Linked DNA regions of Homo sapiens: region 1 is linked to region 2. Evidence: promoter capture Hi-C in human tissues and cell types (Jung and others, 2019). All regions are on one chromosome and are shown on one strand. The core of a region is centred on a gene start or on the middle of the fragment in contact, and the rest is flanking DNA. Distances in the headings are between cores, read along the strand shown.

Region 1 (5,673 bases), core at 263-2,762, 69 kb before region 2:
AATCGTTCATTCCTTCCTTGCTTTGTGCATTTTGTCCAATTCTTTTTTTTTTTCTTTTTCTTTGAGACAGAGTCTTGCTCTGTCTGGAGTGCAGTGGCGCAATCTCGGCTCACTGCAAGCTCTGCCTCCCGGGTTCACGCCACTCTCCTGCCTCTGCCTCCCGAGTAGCTGGGACTACAGGCGCCTGCCACCACGCCCAGCTAATTTTTTGTATTTATTTTTAGTAGAGACAGGGTTTCACCGTGTTGGCCAGGATGGTCTCAATCTCCTGACCTCGTGATCCGCCCGCCTCGGCCTCCCAAAGTGCTGGGATTATAGGCGTGAGCCACCGCGCCCAGCCGTTTTGTCCCATTATTTTAGATGCCAAGAACCTGTACACCCTCCACCGGTGACACCTTCACAGTTTTGAGGAGTATTCATGGGGTATTTTGTAAAATGTTTCTCAATTGGGATTTGTCTGATGTTTTTCTCATGATTAGACTGGAGGCAGCTGGGATTACAGGTGTGAGCCACCATGCCCAGTCTCCAAACCCTGTTTACACAAAAATTTTAAAAAACTAGCCAGGCTTGGTGGTGCGCGCCTGTAGTCCCAGCTACTAGAGAGCCTGAGGTGGATCACTTGATCCCGGGAGGGGGAGGCTGCAGTGAGCGGAGATTGTGCCTCGCTGGCTGCACTCCAGCCCGGGCGAGAGAGCCAGACCTTGTCTCAAAAAAAAAAAAAAAAAAAAAAAAAGCCTAATATGGCTGAGGGCGGTGGCTCACGCCTGTAATCCCAGTACTTTGTGAGGCCGAGGCGGGCGGATCACGAGGTCAAGAGCTCTAGACCATCCTGGCCAACATGGTGAAACCCCGCCCGTACTAAAAATACAAAAATTAGTTGGGTACTCGGGAGGCTGAGGCAGGAGAATCGCTTGAACCCGGGAGGCGGGGGTTACAGGGAGCTGAGATCGCGCCACTGCACTCCAGCCTGGCGACAGAGCGAGACTCCGTCTCAAAAATAAATATATACAAATTAAAAAAGCCTAATATACAAAATAAAGCTAGGAATCTTCCCTGAGTCCTCTTGCCTACGGAATGAAGTCCACAGACTTGGGGGAGCGTTCGAACCCTTCTAAGGCCACTTCCTTTCTCCAGCCTCTCGCGCCCAGTTGACTCCCGGCAACACCTCCCGCCGCCACAAGGAGACGCCCGAGGACTTCCCTCCGACAAAGCCAAAAACGGTATTGCCACGTGACCCGCTCCGCATACACGTGACCAGCTTCGCACCCGGTGGGCGTCACGTGACGGACTCAGTAGACCGCCACTGGCTGTGCACGTTATGGGGTTTCCACCTAGGGCTCGGCCTGAGGCTTGTAACACTCCGTTTTCCCCCGAGTCACAGGGGCAGTCTTGCCCCTCGCAGCTGGGTCGCGGTGTCTCTCAAAGGTCCCCCTCTACAGGGGCTTCGTGAGGCCCGGGCCCACAGGGCGCTCGGTCCCGGAAGTGACGTCTCCCAGAGGGGCCGGAAGTGGCAGTGGAGGGAGGGAAGATGGCGGAGGTGGTGAGTCCGGTGCCCGGGGCGGGGCGGAGGGAGCCAGGGGAGGTGGGTAGAGCCCGAGGCCCCCCAGTAGCCGACCCTGGCGTCGCGCTGTCTCCCCAGGGGGAGATAATCGAGGGCTGCCGCCTACCCGTGCTGCGGCGGAACCAGGACAACGAAGATGAGTGGCGTGAGTGACGTTGGGGGGCGGGACTAAGGAACCTGAGGGCGAGGGGCGGGAGTCAACTGAAATCCCGGGATGGGGAGGGGCGTCTGGAATTATGGGGCGGGCGAGGCGCAGATACTTTGATGAAGGGGCGTGGCTCTTAGCTGCTCCGAGAGGTACAGGGCGGGGCCTGGAAAGGGGTGGCACTTGTGACTGAAGGAGGCTTAGGAGAGACCTAAGTGCTGGAGCTTAGGGATCCGGCCTGGGGGTGGAGTTCAGGTCGTGGAAGGGTGGAGTCTCATAGCCTGGCCTGTCTAAGGCCCCTGTCTATGCTATTCTCATAGCCCTGGCCGAGATCCTGAGCGTGAAGGACATCAGTGGCCGGAAGCTTTTCTACGTCCATTACATTGACTGTGAGTTCTGGGCCTGAGGTGGGGCATCAGGGTAGGGTTGGGGGACAGTCTTTGGCATTCTGTCCTGAGCCATCCCCACTGCTACAGTCAACAAACGTCTGGATGAATGGGTGACGCATGAGCGGCTGGACCTAAAGAAGATCCAGTTCCCCAAGAAAGAGGCCAAGACCCCCACTAAGAACGGACTTCCTGGGTCCCGTCCTGGCTCTCCAGAGAGAGAGGTGGTGAGTAGGTCCCCCACTTCACCTTTTCTCTCCTGCCTCCTATTTCTCTTGTCTGTTGGCATTAGGAGCTCCTGGATGGGCAGGAGGCGGCTCCCTCTCACCCTGACTTCATCTTGCAAAGGATGGGGGCCAAATTGCACATGTAGCTCCCAGAGTCCAGTAGCTAGTCCTGTGTCCTTCAGAAGGCGAGGGTGGGGTTTGATAATTTTGAGGTGAGGGACCCCTCTTCCCCTTCCCCATCCCACTGCCATCCCCGCCCCAAAGGAAGACCCTGGACCTATCTCTACAGCCGGCCTCGGCGCAGGCCAGCGGGAAGACCTTGCCAATCCCGGTCCAGATCACACTCCGCTTCAACCTGCCCAAGGAGCGGGAGGCCATTCCCGGTGGCGAGCCTGACCAGCCGCTCTCCTCCAGCTCCTGCCTGCAGCCCAACCACCGCTCAACGGTACCCTCAGCAATTCCAGGGACCTTGCTTTCTTCTCAGGTCCCACCTTCTCTACCTTCTGACCCACCTTTGTTGGTTTCTCTCTGCAGAAACGGAAGGTGGAGGTGGTTTCACCAGCAACTCCAGTGCCCAGCGAGACAGCCCCGGCCTCGGTTTTTCCCCAGGTGAGTTCCCCAAACCATCTCTTGTTCTCTTCCTCTCTTCTACTCTCTGGTGGCTTTTTTCAGGCTCATTTCACAGCCATCCCTTCTTTTCCTACTATCTCGGCAGAATGGAGCCGCCCGTAGGGCAGTGGCAGCCCAGCCAGGACGGAAGCGAAAATCGAATTGTTTGGGCACTGATGAGGTGGGTCTGGGGAGCAGCAGAAGGGAACTGGGTGAAAAGGAAGGGATGCAGGCAGGGTGGAGAGTTATTTAGTGATGAGTTTAAAAATAAAGAAGGGGTGGTGGGCAGAGCTAGTGTTGGTGGGATTAGGAGACAGGCAGAACATTGTTCAAATGAGTCATTGGGGCCGGGCACCATGGCTCATACCTGTAATCCCAGCACTTTGGGAGTCCAACCAAGGCTGGTGGATCACCTGAGGTCAGGAGTTTGAGACCAGCCTGGCCAACATGGTGAAACCTTGTTTCTACTAGAAATACAAAAATTAGCCAGGCGTGGTGGCGGGTGCCTGTAATCCAGCTCGGAAAGCTGAGGCAGGAGAACTGCTTGAACCCCGGAGGTGGAGATTGCAGTGAGCCAAGATCGCGCTACTGCCCTCCAGCCTGGGCGACAGACTGAGACTCCATCTAAAAAATGGGGTCATTGGGTGATCTTTTCCACATCATCGATCCTTTAGGGTTTCAGGTTTTTTATCTGGAAATTGGGGATCATGGTACCTCCCCCTTAGGGTTGCTGTTAGGCTTGAAGGAAACCTGTCAAAGGGCTGTGAGCTGTGGTGTCCTGCTGAGCTGTCTCTTACAACCTGGTATTTTCCACTGGCCCTGGGCAGGACTCCCAGGACAGCTCTGATGGAATACCGTCAGCACCACGCATGACTGGCAGCCTGGTGTCTGATCGAAGCCACGACGACATCGTCACCCGGATGAAGAACATTGAGTGCATTGAGCTGGGCCGGCACCGCCTCAAGCCGTGGTACTTCTCCCCGTACCCACAGGAACTCACCACATTGCCTGTCCTCTACCTGTGCGAGTTCTGCCTCAAGTACGGCCGTAGTCTCAAGTGTCTTCAGCGTCATTTGGTATGAGGGGTCCAGGGAGGCTGCCTTCCCAGCACCCTCCACGTTGCCCTTGTTCCTGATCCTCCTCTCTTCCCCAGACCAAGTGTGACCTACGACATCCTCCAGGCAATGAGATTTACCGCAAGGGCACCATCTCCTTCTTTGAGATTGATGGACGTAAGAACAAGGTTAGTGCTTGAGAGGCAGTGAGGCGCTGGGGTGAATCAAATGACAGCTTCTTCTTGCTCAGGTAAACACTGACCAGTCAAGCCAGCAGATCAGTCCAGCCCATTTTTATTGAGTTCCTGCTGTCTGGCAGGTGCTGGTAGCCAGGAATGAGACAGTCTCTGTTCTCTGACAGCTTAGTCCATGGGAGAGACAGTCATACCAATGACCTCTAGCTCCCAGTGTCCTAAGTGTCATGAAACAGAGGGTAGGTTAGCAGGACCCAAAGGAGGTGGTCAGCAGAGCTTCATAGAGGGTTACCTTTCAGCCTTGGTGGATGACAAAGTGGCTGAGGGGATTTCTTGCAGTGGTGTTCTGAAGAGTAGGCATGGATGCACAAAGGTGGTCTTTGTGAAAGGCAGAGATCATTCTGGTTGGGAGGCAGAAAAGGGAGGATGAGGGAAGGCTCGTACATGGGACAGAGCTTAGGTGATGAAGATGCTGTGTTAACCACCATTTTGTAATTATTAATGTGGACCTGGGCATCCAAGTGGCAGTACCCAGCAGCAGGCGGTTAAAAAGCAATTCCTGGGCTGGGCACGGTGGCTCACACCTGTAATCCCAGCACTTTGGGAGGCTGAGGCGGGCGGATCACAAGGTCAGGAGATCGAGACCATCCTGGCTAACACGGTTAAACCCTGTCTCTACTAAAAAGTACAAAAAATTAGCTGGGCGTGGTGGCGGGTGCCTGTAATCCCAGCTACTCGGGAGGCTGAGGCAGGAGAATGGCGTGAACCCAGGAGGCAGAGTTTGCAGTGAGCCGAGATTGCACCACTGCATTCCAGCCTGGGAGACAGCAAGACTTCGTGTAAAAAAAATAAATAAATAAAAAGCAATTTCTGGCTGGGCACAGTGGCTCATACCTGTAACCCCAGCACTTTGGGAGGCCAAGGTGGGCCAATCACTTGAGCCCAGAATTTCGAGACCAGCCTGGGCAACATGGAGAAACCCCCAGGTACTCGGGAGGCTGAGTTGGGAGAATCACCTGAGCCTGGGAAGTCAAGGCTGCAGTGACCCACGATTGCATGATTGCACCACTGCACTCCAGCCTGGGTGACAGGAGTGAGACCCTGTGTCAAAAAAAAAAAAAAAAAACCCACAATGTCTGAAATGCAGGAGAAATCGTGTGCAGAAGTAAAGCAGCAGGATTCATAATTTTGCTGGGGTAAACCCTAAGGCAGTTATTTTGTTAAATTCCAGAATTCCTTAACTCTGTTGTAGAGTAGCAGATCAGTTCCCAGGAGGTGTGACTGTGGATGTAGAATGTTAGGTTTTTTAACAGCTAGACTCCCAAGACTGTTAGATAGGGAGTCAGTGGTCAGAGTCTCACTTTGGACACATTAGTTTGAGGAGCCGTGGTCAGAGTCTCACTTTGGACACATTAGTTCGTTGGCTGCTGTTAAAAAACATTAAAAGGCAGTGGTCTCTCCTGGTCAGGCTTAGAATGGAGGTGTGCGGAGCAAGG
Region 2 (5,589 bases), core at 1,274-3,773:
CAACACTGGGAGTGGGCCCTTGACCCGATGGGACCCCAGGCTCAGCCGTACCAGGGCCGGTGCCTCCTGCACCATCAGTGCTGCCACAAAGCCCTGGTTCTCGGCCACCAGTGAAGAGGCCAGTGCAGGTGCGGCAAGCGAGGGGCCCAGGGCCACCCCCAACTTGGGTGCTGCCAGGTGTGCCAGCAGGATGTAGTAGAGGCGGGCGTGGTCACGCCCATCAGGGTCCTCCAGCTGCCTGGCCAGCACCTGCAGCAAGTCGACCAGGCCGCCCCTCACCCCTGCCCGCAGCAGCGCCCGGCAGACCCGCAGCAGGCCCTGCTGTAGGTCCCAGTTCGTGCAGTGGGCAGCCGCGGCCTGTAGAAAGTTGAGGGTAGCACTCTGGGCATCTCCATCTGCCACCTTTGCCAGCATTTGCAGGTGCCAGCAAAGAGCTTCATCCCTGCCCGGCCTGGACACCACCACCTGCCGCAACACCACCTTCAGGGGCTCCCTCAGCTCAGAGTCCACCTGATCCAAGAGGTCCACAAAGTGGGGAGCCAGCATGGGCCGGGCTTGGTACAGCTGGGCCAGTCCGTGGATCAAGGGGGTCAGCACCGTAGGTTGCCCAGCCAGGCAGCAGGCCACCAGATACGAGGCCTGGAAGCAGAGAGTGGCCAAGGCCCGGGGGCCCCCATCCAGGGCTGCCCGCTGCCGCAAGCCAGCCAGCAGCTCTTCCAGGTAGTGCCGTGGGCTTGGAAGCTGGCCTTTCTCCTCTTCTTCCTCCTCGGCACAGAGCAGGCACAGTAAATGCAGGCGGGCCAGGAGGGCCATTGGGTCATGCAGGAGACTGGGCAGGAGACCACGGCATAGCTGGGGCCCTAGCAGCAGTGGGGCAGCCTCCTCACCTTCAGGGCCCAGCGGCCAGTTCTCAGGGAAGCTCAGGACGCAGTGAAGGTAAAAGAGATGGGTGGGCGGAGGCAGAGCAGGGTGCTGGGCAGCCAAGGTGAGCCGGCGGAGCAGCAACGCTTCATCCTGGGCTGTGAACAAGGCCTCACCAAAGGCCGCCTTGAGCGCAAGCATGGCGTGCAACAGTGTCAGCTGTGCTGTGCCTAGCAGCCGTACCAGCTGCGGCTTGAAGAGTGCCGGTGGCTGTCCCTGCAGACCCCGCAGGGCCCAGCCCAGCAGCCACAGGAGCTGGGCCTGGGCCACAGGAGTGAGCAGATAGGAGGTGTCCAGAAGCTGGATCACCGCAGCCCGCAGCTCCCGCGCCTCCTCAGGGCTGTGCTCTCGTGCTGTAAGGCTACGCTCCCCCTCTCCCTCCTCAGCTGCCGGCCAGCTGGGTGCCTGGGGCTGAAGGCGTCCATCGCCCTCCTCCACTAGTGTCCAATCCCAGGGACCACCCCCAGTTGGGGAGACCTTATCCGTGAGCAGTCCCCCCAGGCCAGCCCCAACCCGGGACTGGAGCACCAAGGTGTTGCGCAAAGCGAGGGCCAGCAACAGGCTGAGTGGCTGGACAGGGCCTTCCTGCCCCAGCAGGCCCCGCAGCAACCCCAGGGAGCCCCCCAGCAGCCCGGGCTTGCAGCTCTCTAGCTCTCGCAGGCACTCGCAGGCCGTGGCCTGCAAGGGGCGCTGTTCCGAGGCGGGGACAAAGCCTCGCCCCAGATCGCTACCCGCGGCCAGGCCGAGCAGTAGGGGCAGGAGCCGGCAGGAGGCGCCCGAGGTGGGGCCCAGCGCGCCGCCCGCCGCCAGGGCAGTGGTGGCCGCCAGCAGCAGTGGCCGACGGAGAGCTGAGGGCCGCGGGGGTAGGAGGACCAAGGTGTCCAACAGGGAGGTGGCGGCCACTTCGGCCGCAGAGGCGTCGGGCCACAGCTGCGCAGGGTACTCCATGCTCAGGGCCAGCAGGGAAACCTGGATGGGGGATTAGGAGGGAATCACGAAGATGAGGTTCATGACGCGGCGGGCTGGGGTGACCCTGCGGAACGGCGCAGGGGACGCGTGGGGGCCTACCTTGGTCTGTTCGCTCAGCTTCTCACTTCTCAGGTCGCTCAGCAGGTCGCGACCCAAATCCTCCCCCTCGGGACCTGCCATGAAGGCAGACGGGCTGGCCCGGAAGGCCCCCAAGCGCTGGGCCCAGGCGTCCCGGCTCAGGGGCCCCATGGTGAGGCGCGCGGGCCCCTGCGCAGGGAAGAGGGACCCTCAGGCCGCAGCCACCGGGAGCGCGGGGCCCGCTGCCGACCCCGAGGGGCTGCGGTCACCCCCAGACGCCGCGCAGATGCCGGCGGGACCCGCGCCCGGCTCCCACGGTGAGACCAGGGCTCTCGGGGCCGACGCCAGAGCTGGGCGCCGGGGCCCTCGCGGGACAGGACAGGAGCAGGGCGGGGGAGGGTGCGTGCCGAGAGCTCGTTAGGCCGCCTCCCTCCCGCCCGCGGCCCGCACCGAAACCACAGCGCCACCCCGGCCCCCGGCGCCGGCGGTAACGGGCCGCGCTCGCCGCCTGACTCAGCCGCCGCGGGCACTCAGGCCGGCCGGCTCCTTCCGGGCTGGCGGCGCGGGGCGGGGCGCGGCGCGGGGGCGGCCGAGTCCGGGCGGGGAGGGGCGGGGCGTAACGGGGCCACCGCCTCCCGCAGGTGTCGACTCGCAGGTTTCGCGGGGGCTGACTAACTGTCCCGCCGCGCAGGCCCCCTTCCCCGAAACCGCCGCAGGCCGGGGCAGGAAAGGCGGAGGGGAGTGGGTAGGGGTGGCGGAGCGGGGTGGGCCTGGGCCCCAGATGCCGGGTACCGCGGCGCAGGGCTGCGATCCCGCGGCCCTCGGCGGACAGCGGCCCGGTCCCACCAGCGCCCGCCAAGCCGCGCAGGGCGGCAGCCAGCGCGCCCCCCGCCGGCGCCCGGGCACACCGCACCCTGCGCCAGACGCGCGGCCCCGGGGGGCGTGGGTGCGGGTCCTGGGGCTCCCGGAGTGGCCCCTGGGGGTGACCAAGGTGCGGTCGCAGGGCGCCCGCAGGAAAAGCGCCCCAGCTGAACCGGTCCGGCGGGCGCCGCAGGGCTTGGCTTCGCTTCCCTGACGCCTGCCCGGGCCCCCAGCCCGCTCGGCTTGGGGGCGAGGAGCCGGCGCCGCGGTTGCGGCCAGCCAGGAGCTTCTGACCTTTGTTTGCCCGAGGCCGCGCTGGCGGCCCGCAGGGGTCGTGACGGCGAGGGCGGGGCAGGGCCCTAAGTCGAAAACAACGGGATCCATACTCGGGAAGTGCGGGCTGTCAGGGCCTGGCCGGTCACGGGGCTCGAGGCATGCCTAGCGATGGGGAAAACAGGCCCAGGAGGAGGGCGGCCTTGCCAACCGAGATCTGGGGCCAAGCCGGGCCGGAACCCAGCACTCCAGACTTCAGTGGGCTGGATTCTGGCTGTTTGGGGGCATTCGGGGGTCTGGGCGGCGGTCTCTCCCAGGCCAGAGGCCCAGGTTGCAGGTGCCCCACAGACCACCGGTTTCCAGGGCACAGAACCGCCGGCGCCCAAACCTCACCACCCCTCTGGCTCCAATTAGCCGCTTTGAAGATGAAACAGGCCTGAGCCCCCATGCAAGCCAGTGCCAGCTGGCCTCTCCCTACCCCATCCTGCTCCAGATGGGAGGTGGTGGAGAGTTGAGGGGTGGAGAGTGCCAAAAAGGAGGCTGTCTGGGTGCCCTTGGGGATGGAGAGATAGAGACCCACTCGGAGGGACAGGTCCAGCCAGAAGGCCCGGTCCCGGCTCCTCTAGGCCCTGGCTCCACAGTTGACTCACAGGCAGCAGCCCCAAACTACTTCCCTCTAGGTGCCTCAGTTTCCCCATCTATAAAATGGGAGTGATAACTCCCACCCAAGAGGCTGTGGGGTGAGGCAGCCTGGCTAATTAAACCCAAGATGAAAGAGGCAGGATGAGAGCAGCCCTGGGGAGGGGAGGCAGCCTGCAGTAGGAGCCAGTCTGGTTTCTCTGTCTGAGCCCAGAGGGTGCTGGTAACTGCACATCCCCGGCCCTCACCACCCTCACGGTGAGGCAGGAATGATCATTAAACTTCTTGCAGAGTTGAGAAGACAGGTTTCCAAGGATCAGGGGGCCTGACACTGGCTCTGGCCCCGGCTCAGCCTCTGACAGCGTGGCCTCTGCACACCTCCTGCCTGAGTCTTGACTCCTTGAGGCTGAGGGTCTGGAGGGAGGGAACCCACTTGTGGTCTCCAATACTGCAGTGGACGAATCCGCATGGACTTACTGAGGCTCACAGCAACCCCAGGTACCGAGAGTGGGTATCAGATGAGGAAAGGGAAGCCCACAGAGGTACGGTCTCTCAGTCACAGAGCCCCTCAGAGGTGGAGCCTCGACTTCCACAAACAGCCCCTTGTTGCATCTGACCTGGTCCTCCCCCCACACCAGGTACCCTCGGCCCTCTTGGGTGTCCAGGTCCCTGGATGGGCCCTGTTCTCACCTGTCTGCTCCCCTATTGGCGGGTGGTGCTGGCTCTGTCCCTGGCAAGGCCAGGCATGGAGCTGAGCTCAGACTGTCACCGGACTCACCCGGGACAGCAACATCCCAGTCGAGGGCCCAGGTGTGGGCCACTGCCGGATGCTGAGCTGGGAATTCCCCACTCCACGCCCTCCCTCATTTCTTCTCCTGCTGAGTTTCTGTCCTCCCCATGCAGCCCAGTTGTGGGCAGACACTAAACACAAGGCTTGTAAAAGGGAAAGTCAGCTTCCCAAGGGGTCCTGAGCCTCAGTTTTCTCATCTGTAAAATCGGGCTACAACAAACACACTCTCGCAGCACTGGCTGCTGGGGATACAGGAAGGCTTAGGAAAGAACGAGTCAATAGGCAAAGCCATGGAGATAGAGCAGATAGTGGGTGCTGGGCCAGGGGGAAGGGAGACACAGTGACAGCTAATGAGTACAGGGTTTTCTTTGGGGCCATGAAAATGTTCTGAGATTTAGTGATGATGGTTGTACAGCTCTGTGAGGTTACTAAAAACCAGTGAATTGTACATCTTACAAAAGGGTGAATTTGATGGTATATGAATTCTATCTAAATAAAGCTATTTAAAATGGTGTTTAAAAAGGGGTCCCACCCCAGACCAGCAGGGGCACAAAAAGTAAAAATAAAAAATAAGGCCGGGCACGGTGGCTCACTCCTGTAATCCCAGCCTTTGGGAGGCTGAGGCGGGCAGATCACGAGGTCAGGAGATTGAGACCATCCTGGAGAACATGGTGAAACCCCGTCTCTACTAAAAATACAAAAAAATTAGCTGGGCATGGTGGCGGGCGCCTGTAAGTCCCAGCTACTCAGGAGGCTGAGGCAGGAGAATGGCGTGAACCAGGGGGTCGGAGCTTGCAGTGAGCCGAGATCACGCCACTGCTCTCCAGCCTGGACGACAGGGAGACACCGTCTCAAAAAAAATAAATAAAAATAAAAAAGTAAAATAAAAAGGGGTCCCTCAAGTTCAGAACTTGCACTGGTGGGGAGGAGAACCAACAATAAACAAGAAAGACAAACGAAACGCCACAGAGTCAAAGTTGTGGCAAAGAAAATAGGATAGTGGGACAGAGGTGGCAGGGGACAAGGATTTAGCTGGGGTGGATGGAGAGGCCCCTCAG

The links. Contacts are between HindIII fragments. The study calls those that stand out against the background at their distance.
Region 1: the fragment with the promoter of KAT5 here is called in contact with the fragment with the promoter of AP5B1 in region 2 in 1 of the 25 tissues and cell types used here (spleen).

Annotation. Positions count from the first base shown.
Region 1 is chr11:65,710,740-65,716,412 of GRCh38, forward strand. KAT5 (lysine acetyltransferase 5) reads left to right here and starts at 1,513. Exons shown (of 13, transcript NM_182710.3): 1 at 1,513-1,706; 2 at 2,027-2,095; 3 at 2,183-2,319; 4 at 2,609-2,764; 5 at 2,854-2,928; 6 at 3,035-3,109; 7 at 3,756-4,004; 8 at 4,082-4,171. The coding sequence starts at 1,529. RefSeq lists enhancers at 1,069-1,188, 1,219-1,528 and silencers at 1,559-1,748, 1,759-1,838. The HindIII fragment of the contact is 8,771 bases long and covers 1-5,673 here.
Region 2 is chr11:65,778,453-65,784,041 of GRCh38, forward strand. It overlaps AP5B1 (adaptor related protein complex 5 subunit beta 1), which reads right to left and starts at 2,524. Exons shown (of 2, transcript NM_138368.5): 1 at 1,990-2,524; 2 at 1-1,890. The coding sequence starts at 2,139. RefSeq lists silencers at 1,598-1,867, 2,018-2,197, 2,238-2,977 and enhancers at 1,606-2,508, 3,238-3,895. The HindIII fragment of the contact is 21,769 bases long and covers 1-5,589 here.